Linked DNA regions of Homo sapiens: regions 1 and 2 are each linked to region 3. Evidence: promoter capture Hi-C in 16 types of primary human blood cells and fetal thymus (Javierre and others, 2016). All regions are on one chromosome and are shown on one strand. Each heading gives the region's core, a stretch centred on a gene start or on the middle of the fragment in contact. The rest is flanking DNA. Distances are from core to core; before and after follow the strand shown.

What was found. The method cuts DNA at HindIII sites, captures the fragments that hold promoters and counts their contacts. A CHiCAGO score of 5 or more calls a contact.
Region 1: a fragment that was not itself captured here is called in contact with the fragment with the promoter of C2CD5 in region 3 in 1 of 17 cell types (M2 macrophages); the score reaches 6.6 in M2 macrophages.
Region 2: a fragment that was not itself captured here is called in contact with the fragment with the promoter of C2CD5 in region 3 in 1 of 17 cell types (M2 macrophages); the score reaches 10.9 in M2 macrophages.

The regions. Positions count from the first base shown.
Region 1 is chr12:24,715,460-24,718,159 of GRCh38, reverse strand. All of the region lies in intron 1 of LOC124902897, which reads right to left. Among named protein-coding and RNA genes, the nearest start is that of BCAT1-AS1, 100 kb to the left of the region's middle. The HindIII fragment of the contact is 3,597 bases long and covers 1-2,700 here.
Region 2 is chr12:24,696,714-24,699,413 of GRCh38, reverse strand. All of the region lies in intron 1 of LOC105369698 (a long non-coding RNA gene), which reads left to right. Among named protein-coding and RNA genes, the nearest start is that of LINC00477, 110 kb to the right of the region's middle. The HindIII fragment of the contact is 3,483 bases long and covers 1-2,700 here.
Region 3 is chr12:22,543,096-22,545,795 of GRCh38, reverse strand. It overlaps C2CD5 (C2 calcium dependent domain containing 5), which reads left to right and starts at 1,254. Exons shown (of 27, transcript NM_001286176.2): 1 at 1,254-1,476; 2 at 1,617-1,735. The coding sequence starts at 1,646. RefSeq lists enhancers at 1,124-1,353, 2,494-2,700 and a silencer at 1,494-1,613. The HindIII fragment of the contact is 7,848 bases long and covers 1-2,700 here.

The sequences.
Region 1 (2,700 bases), core at 25-2,524, 2.2 Mb before region 3:
CCAAAGTGTTGGGATTACAGGCATGAGCCACCGCGCAGGGCTTCTCCTTCACTTTCTTACTCATATGTACACACACACACGCACGCATGCACAAGCATCTATGCACACACACACAGTTAGATGCTTATATTAAGTGGTCCCCAAACTTAAGTGATATTTCTCCCTCTTCTATGACATTGCCCACTAGTTATTTTCTGTTAGCTGAACAAAAGCAATTCCATTCATTTCTGAGAGACTCTAAAGACGTGTTTACATAGATAGCAACTCATGCCAACAACCTAAATGTGGAATCATTCTTCCTAGGTTTCCCTCAGCACTCACCATATAGTACCATCAATGATCTAACCAAAAAATAACCTGTTCAGAGAAAATGTGTTGTCATAAACAAGGTGCACAGAGATCTGGGTTCTAGAAATTGCTCAACTGTTAATTAGCATTGTGACCTTCAGGAACTCATTTAACCTTTCAGAACCTTTTAAACCTCTCCTATCTACTTCCTGGGTTAGGAGGATACAATAGGGTAATGTCTGTGAAAGGAGCCTAAACGACTGAATCGTTCACATGAGCAACTTTTAAAGTCAACCCTATCCAACTTTGCAGAGCTGTTTTAGAATAAAAAATTATTTCTTTGTGCTCAACCATATCAGTTGTAAAACTATTTTAGAAGTGGGGATTGATTAACTTTTAAGGCAACCAACCACATTTATTCAAAGAAACTGTATGAGCACACTATATTAGGCACTACAAAATCCTAATTTGTTTACATTCCAAGATTCAAATTCAGGCCCCTTCTGTGACACTCAAATTCCGCACCTCTATACCTAATCAGACTCAGACACTTTACAAAATACTGACAACTTGTGACAGCTGTAAGTATAGCTATCCTTCAAAAATCCAGGTGGACAGAGACTTCGCTTTTCATAGGATTTCCCACATACACAACCAATTAAGAGATTAAAAGGACATACCAGTTTTAAAATGTGTTATTCACTGACACAGGCAGTGTTCTGGCACTGTGTTTTGACTGCACTGACAGGAGCATATTTATAGGGAAGAATTCCACCTAGATTCTTTTGTTCAGCTCATTACAATTGATTTGTTACTGGTGTAAACTCAGGATTATTATAATAATTAGTGCAGACATTAATGTAATGAAATAGTGTTTTCCAGCTAAAGTAATATTCAAACGCAAGCCTGGTTTTCCTCCACTGTTAACTGGAGTCCTCCGAACACTCCGAGACTGAGGCGGTTCTTGATGCTCCATATTAAGCCGAGGTTCCTTTACTTTTATTCTTTTTTTGGTTTCACTGTTGAACCTTTCTAGGTCGCAATTACACTTAGTTTCTATAATGCAGTGCCAATGAAGTGACAAACGCTATCGCATAAGTCAAAGGCAGGATTTGGAGAGTGCAGGTGTTCAGAAGTTTGCACACCATGCAGTGTTTGACTGTGGGATTCATTATGGCTTACGGGAAGATAGCAGCCCTTGAAGGGCTCCAGTGACAGAAACACATTTGCAGCTTGCTGCCAAGCCATACAGATGTGGAGGCAATGTTTAAAATCATCTAATAGAGATGTGTTCAAGATCACCTGAGCCACCTTTGTGGCTCTAGGGCCAGGTTTGTTAGAGCCACAGGCTCACACACCTGCCAAGAAGTGTGAACACCCCTCCAGGTCTTTGTAAAATGCATCTGTGTGTAACTTTTGATAGCTTTTACAAAACATGCAATTACTGTTCAGAGTGACTTTCCTTCAGCTGCTTTCTAGTCATGGGAAGTAGGTGGAAACATTTCTCAGTGGGCTGGAATTCCAAATGCCACTTGGATCCTGGGCTATGGGCCTTTTTATATTGTTTGTGCATGTATTTCAGGCATGTTCGAGCTGAGGGGCTTAGCGTTCAAAGGGCACGTAGTCTGGAAAAATCACAGGTTTCTGTTAAAAATTCACCTTTGTAATAAATGTGGGAATGGCGATTTGAAGTAAATAATAAGAAATCATTAAGTTGTGGTGAACAAAATGTGCCAATTTGCTCTGACATTTCACAGTATCAATTGCCTTCTTATGTGTCAAAATCATGAATAAGATTTTTTTGGGAGGGGGGTGTTGGAATGATATGTTGAGTTGCAAACTCGTTAACAGTAGTCATTGGAAATGGAAGAAAATGGTGTTGAAGTAGTTGCTGCAGCCTTGGTGGTAAAGGGAATGAGGAGGCTTACCACAGCTTTCTCCTGTTGCCTGAAGCCTGAGACCCTGTAACAATCTCCAGGACAGTCACCTGAGAGGGAGACCCACCTGCATCTGAGCTGGGGGACTCTGGGCTTTCATAGCTTTAGAGATTTGGGAGTTGCAAATCAAATTCTTCATATTTGGCCATATGAAAAACATTCACCCTCAGAAAACTTGAGTGGAGGCAATGGTGACCATTTTACATTAATTTATTTTGGTCTGCGGTTAATTCTCTAGCAGCTTCAGTTAGCACTGGAGTCTTTCAGCACCACGGATCCTTTCTTCTATCACATGAACCTTCTTTTCTCCTTCACCCTTCAGGTCCAGCTCTGTACCTTTCCTCAGAAGTCCCCTTGCGGGCACTTCTTTCCATTGGAACTGCTCCGTTGTGGCACAAGAATTATATTTGCTCTCAGGCCAGAGGGTGTGAAATTCTTTCCTAAGGTTATGACCTTCCAGAGGAGACCCTGGCCC
Region 2 (2,700 bases), core at 144-2,643, 2.2 Mb before region 3:
GCCTCAACATACCATTGAGTATTCTCACACACTTTCTGGTGGGCTCTTCTGTGGCTCTGGTCTTCACACTGGCCTTTGGTCCACAATGCAAATCATAGGTGTTGGGACAGGTCGCTATGTGAAACTATTCCCGTAGAAAGAAAGCAATGCAGCTTCCTAATACAAGGGAAAAAAAGAGCAAAGAAATACTTAAGCTCTCAACTTAAAATATGCAAGACATTTGCTTATTTGCTTTGTCAATATTAGAGAATTTCTTGTTACAGGATATTAGCTGAGGTTGAGAGGCCTTAAAAGTCCCAAGTAAGATATTAAAAACAGTTAACATTTAAGAATCATTGAGAGTCCTTTTCCCTATTTTTTAAGGCATATGCTAATCATCAGTTGAAATCAGGTATTTCCTCTCATGGAGTACTATTCCATAGTTAAGTAAAAGATAGGGTTTCCTTTGAAGTATCTGATCACTGCTTGTTGTAGGGGAACTGACAAGGAAGGGCATTCATTATGTTTTTTTAACCATATAGAAACTTGATTTAACAGTTTATAAGGATGACATTTATTTTAAGCTATTGCATTGAATATAATATTTCCCTAGGACTGTATTTTCATTTACTCTTAGTATATTACCCATTATTTTATTTAGTCATGAAACTCACTTATTTAATTCAAATGCTTTCATTTGCTCAATAAGTTTGCTCAGTAAGAATTAATTGAGTAGTAACCAGCACCAGGCACTGGGATCCATAACACTCTCCAGGAGAGAGACCAGTGGGTTATTTTTGGGCTTAATATGCTAATGGGTTGGGGGTACAAGGAGCCACTGTATTCAAAACAGAATTGTGTGTTGCTTCTTGAGGCAGGGAGGATACTGTATGTATCTTTGTATCTCCAGTTATATTTTAGGCACCCAAGTACATTTTTTTGAATTGAATTGAGTAGAATCATATAGTGTTTGTCTTGGAAATGTATATCAAAGATCATTTAGTGTCTAGTCTAAGAGGTTCGTAGAAGTGTCCAGAGATTGCCAAAAGGCGGGATGAGAAGGCAGATTTCTAAGAGTCCCCAACTTATATTTTAATTAGTATAGCCTCCATTTTATTTACTAGGCACCTGTATAACATTTTGGTTTTTATTAAGATGTATCTACTACTAAAGAAATTTAGAAAACCACTGATAATTCAATTGCCTCATTTTACATTAAAATTTCTGTAATTTTACAAATAAGGCAAATCTATTTTTCAGCATACTGTATCAGTTACACATTATTTAATCTTTTAAACAACAGATATAGTTCAGATCACGTCCTCTGCCCTTAATTCCTTTTTTTTTTTTTTTGGTAGCTGTTTAAAAAAGAAATGGGGGAGTGTGACAGCCTAAAAATAATTTTCTCAAGAAATGATGAAGCAATAGAGTACAAAAGCCTTTGAAGATCTCTAGCAAGCTATGTCAGTGTCTGTAATGTGAAACTGCTTGAGGTCTCTTCAATGCTGTGTGCCCTCACACTGTGAATGAATTCATTAAAACAATGCAGAATTCATCTGGGGCAAAAAAATAAGGAAACTAATTTTTACATGGCTACGGAGTGAGGATAAGATTCTCTCTTAATTTCCTTGGCCTAATGGAGAACACATACATATGCTATCAGCTCATCTCTATCATTAAAAATAAGTTAGAAATGAGAACATGCACAATCATATCAAGGCTTGTCGATTTAAAAAATCCACCCAAGAAAGATGTTTTGGAGATTACTGAGACTCTCAGCTCCCATCAAAGGTGAAAGGAGATTCAGAGAGCAAAGCATCAGTTAATGTTGAGATCTTTATTATAAAGCAAAGCAAAATTGCCTCCTGCAGGTAACTTGGTGTTGATACCTGCAGAAAGAGAGTGCTTCCAGATGACTGATCTGATCGTGTGTCATACACTTAAACCTAGGTAGTCCAGGCTTAAGTCAACAAGACTGATTGAAAACTTTGAGGGCCATGAAATGACGACACTGTCATGAAAGATGTGTCTCTTTGCAAGCAGAAAATTACAGAAAGCACTAAAAATAAGCATTTTTTTTTCCTACAACTGAGATTGTGGAACTTTTTTAACTCCAGAGAATGGAATGCAACTCTCTGGTGGACTTTTGTCTTCTATTTTCAAAAGCGTTTCTTACAGCTGAAAATTTCAAAGGCACAGTTGAGACTAAATGTTATTTACAAATTCCAGAAGTCTACGAACTTCCTTTTCTTCATAAAATGGTCATATCAACCCCAGCTGAATATTTTGAGTTCATGTGTCTATCAAAAATGTAGTGAACTAAATGCCTACGAAGTCAGCTGAGGCCACATGATTACTGAAAAACACGATACAAAAAGTGAAGAAATGAAGGCAGTCCTCATGGTCCCTTGCGCAGTGGCAGGCCTATCACACCATTTTAGTGTTTAAATGCCAACATGATGAAGCAGCTAAAAGCAAAGGTCATTAGTCTTCCGTGGATATGAGAAAAATGGCTATAAAAGTAGCAAGGAAGGAGTAGACAGGCAGTGAGCGAAAGCACAGCAGGTTGCAAAAGTAGAGTTAGAGAGTAGTTAAGGCAAGATGGGGAGAGGTTGAGAGGGTGGAGAATGGATGCCTGGCCAACGACAGAGAAGTAGAGTCACAAAAATAAGGGATCAGCATATAGAAGCCACCAAACATTTACTGAAATGGAATTGAGTA
Region 3 (2,700 bases), core at 5-2,504:
TTCTGCTACTACTGTAGGTCTTATCTTTAGGCTTGTGGATGCTTAATAAGAACACTGAGATGATCTAAGAGTGCAGGACATTTAATTAAAAAAAAATTTTTTTTAAGAGACAGAGTTTTGCTCTGTTGCCCAGGTTGGGGTGCAGTGGTGAGATGGCAGCTCACTGCAGCCTCAAACTCCTGGGCTCAAGCAATTCTCCCAGATTCTCCCACCTCAGCTTCCTAGGTAGCTGAGACCACAGACGAGCCACCGGCCCAGCTAATTTTTGCATTTCTTGTAAAGAAGGGGTCTTACTGTGTTGCCTCGTCTCCATGAGGCTGGTCTCGAACTCCTGGACTCAATCGATCCTCCCACCTCAGCCTCCCACAGTGCTGGGATTACAAATCTGAGCCACCACACCTACCAGCAGAAACTTTTTTTCAAGAGGAGACTTTGGATTTCAAGGTGACCTCCCCCACCCCGCCCACAGTAATATCTGTGACCCAGTGCACAACACAAGTGCCTATGACTGAATAAAATATTTCACTAAATATTTATTTCACTATTCGAGATGTGCCTGGTATCTCTATTTCTTTCTTTCTTTTTTTTCTTTTTTTGGAGACAGAGGAGTGATCTCGGCTCACTGCAACCTCCGCCTCGCAGGTTCAAGCGATTTTCCTGCCTCAGCCTCCTGAGTAGCTGGAATTAGAGGCGCTCGCCACGACGCCCAGCTAATTTTTGTATTTTTAGTAGAGACGGGGTTTCGCCATGTTGTCCAGGCTGGTCTTGAACTCCTGACCTCAGGTGATCCGCCCGCCTCGGCCACCCAAAGTGCTGGGATTACAGACGTGAGCCACTGTGCCTGGCCATCTAACTCTATTTCACAGAAAACTGGAACCACCACACGCACCTGTACCCCTTCCAAGTAGAAACCAGCTAATTTGGTTTTACGAATCACTAAAGGCCGACTGAAAACGCTCTTCTAGCAGTCTTCGCTGCTACTCCATCTATCACAGCCCATCCGAAAAGCGGCGGTAGCAGCTGGGAAGGCCGCGGCCGGAGGCTGTCACAGAGCAGCACTCGCGCTTCGGCCCGCAAGATGGAGCGTTTCCCTCCAGGGAAGCAGCGCCGCACCTATCCACAGCCCCCACTCGGTGGATGATGCAGGACTCGGCCCATTTCCCTGCCCTCCAGCTTTCTCAACGTCAGCCCCGCCCCCTTATCTTTCCTCGGCGAGTTTAGTTTCGCCCCGCCAAGTGGGCAGAGCGCCGAACGATCGATGCTTTCTTCCGCGCCCCGAGAGCCGCCATTTTTGAGAGCGGGGGAGGAGAGACAAGCAGGGGCGGCAGAGGCTCAACGGGATGCTGACTGGGTTTTGCTTTTCGTCCCAGCCTTGTGGGGCCGGGACGGAAGAACCCATCAAAGCCCTTCCTCCCGCCGCCTCTCCGGAATGAGGTCTCAGCACCCGCGCGGGACAGCACCCTTCCTCCTGCGACAGTGAGTGGCGACCCGTGGCGCGACTGCCGGGCGCCCGCGCGCGCCCCCGCGCGCTCCTTCGCTGTCAGTTACCCCGCGCGCCTCCGCCCCTCTCCCGCCGGCCCCGCGCTCGGCGCAGACTCGTTTGTTTGTTTCTGCAGGAGCCCAAGAAGAGGCCGAAACCGAGACCATGCCAGGGAAGCTGAAGGTGAAAATCGTGGCCGGGCGCCATTTGCCAGTGATGGACCGTGCTAGTGACCTGACTGATGCCTTCGTGGAGGTTGGTGCAGGGTCCTGCCCCTCAAAACACAGGGAGCGCCAAGCCCTGTGAAGGATCTACCCACCTCGCCCCCAGCCCCTCAGCCTATTCCCCCCTCGACTGCCCTCCCTTCGGCCGTGGTTGTCCAGCTCTCCCACGAGGGATGACCGCCGAGACCTCAGTGTGTGCGATGGGTGCACGGCTTGCAGGCGTCCGCGGCACAGTCCGCTGCGCGGGGAGGCTTGTACTGTTGTGCATGCGGGGGTGACCCTGATGTCAGGACTCATTAACAGGCCACCTGCCACTCAGGAGATCCCAAGGCGTGGCCGCGCAGCCACCGACACACTCACACACATACACACACACACACACAAATGCCGGAATGACTCTGATGTCAGGACTCATTAACAGGCCACCTGCCACTCAGGAGATCCCAAGGTGTGGCCCCGCAGCCACTGAAACACACACACACACAGGCACACACACACCCTTGGAAGGGGTGGCCAGAGTGCTGGACATCATGTTTAAGAAGGTGCATGAAGCCCTTTATGGGCACTTGGAGTCCCACAGTGCGAGGAAATCCACTCTCATGCCTAACATTTTGTGAATCTGCCATGCACGTTCTAAAACACAACTGCAACACTTCCTGCTCTTGTATAGGCTGGTAGGTCTGATGAGGTGTTTCAGGGTAATTTAGCGCCTTGAGGTAGGAAGTCATTTAATTGCCATGGACTTAAATTGCAAAATTGCTTTTTAAGTCTAATGATTAGTTTAAAAGTCATGCAAATTAGTAAAGGCCTACGGCCGGAAGGTAATAACCCAGAGTCTGAAAGAAGCCAAGTAAAGATTGTAATAAAAATTGGCGTGATGAGCCAGAGCATTAGAGCAGCAATCATTTGGGCTATTAGTGCTTAGAATTGATGGATAGATATATCATAATATATAGCTCGATTTCATCTCAATATTCCTGATGTTTCCTAAATGTT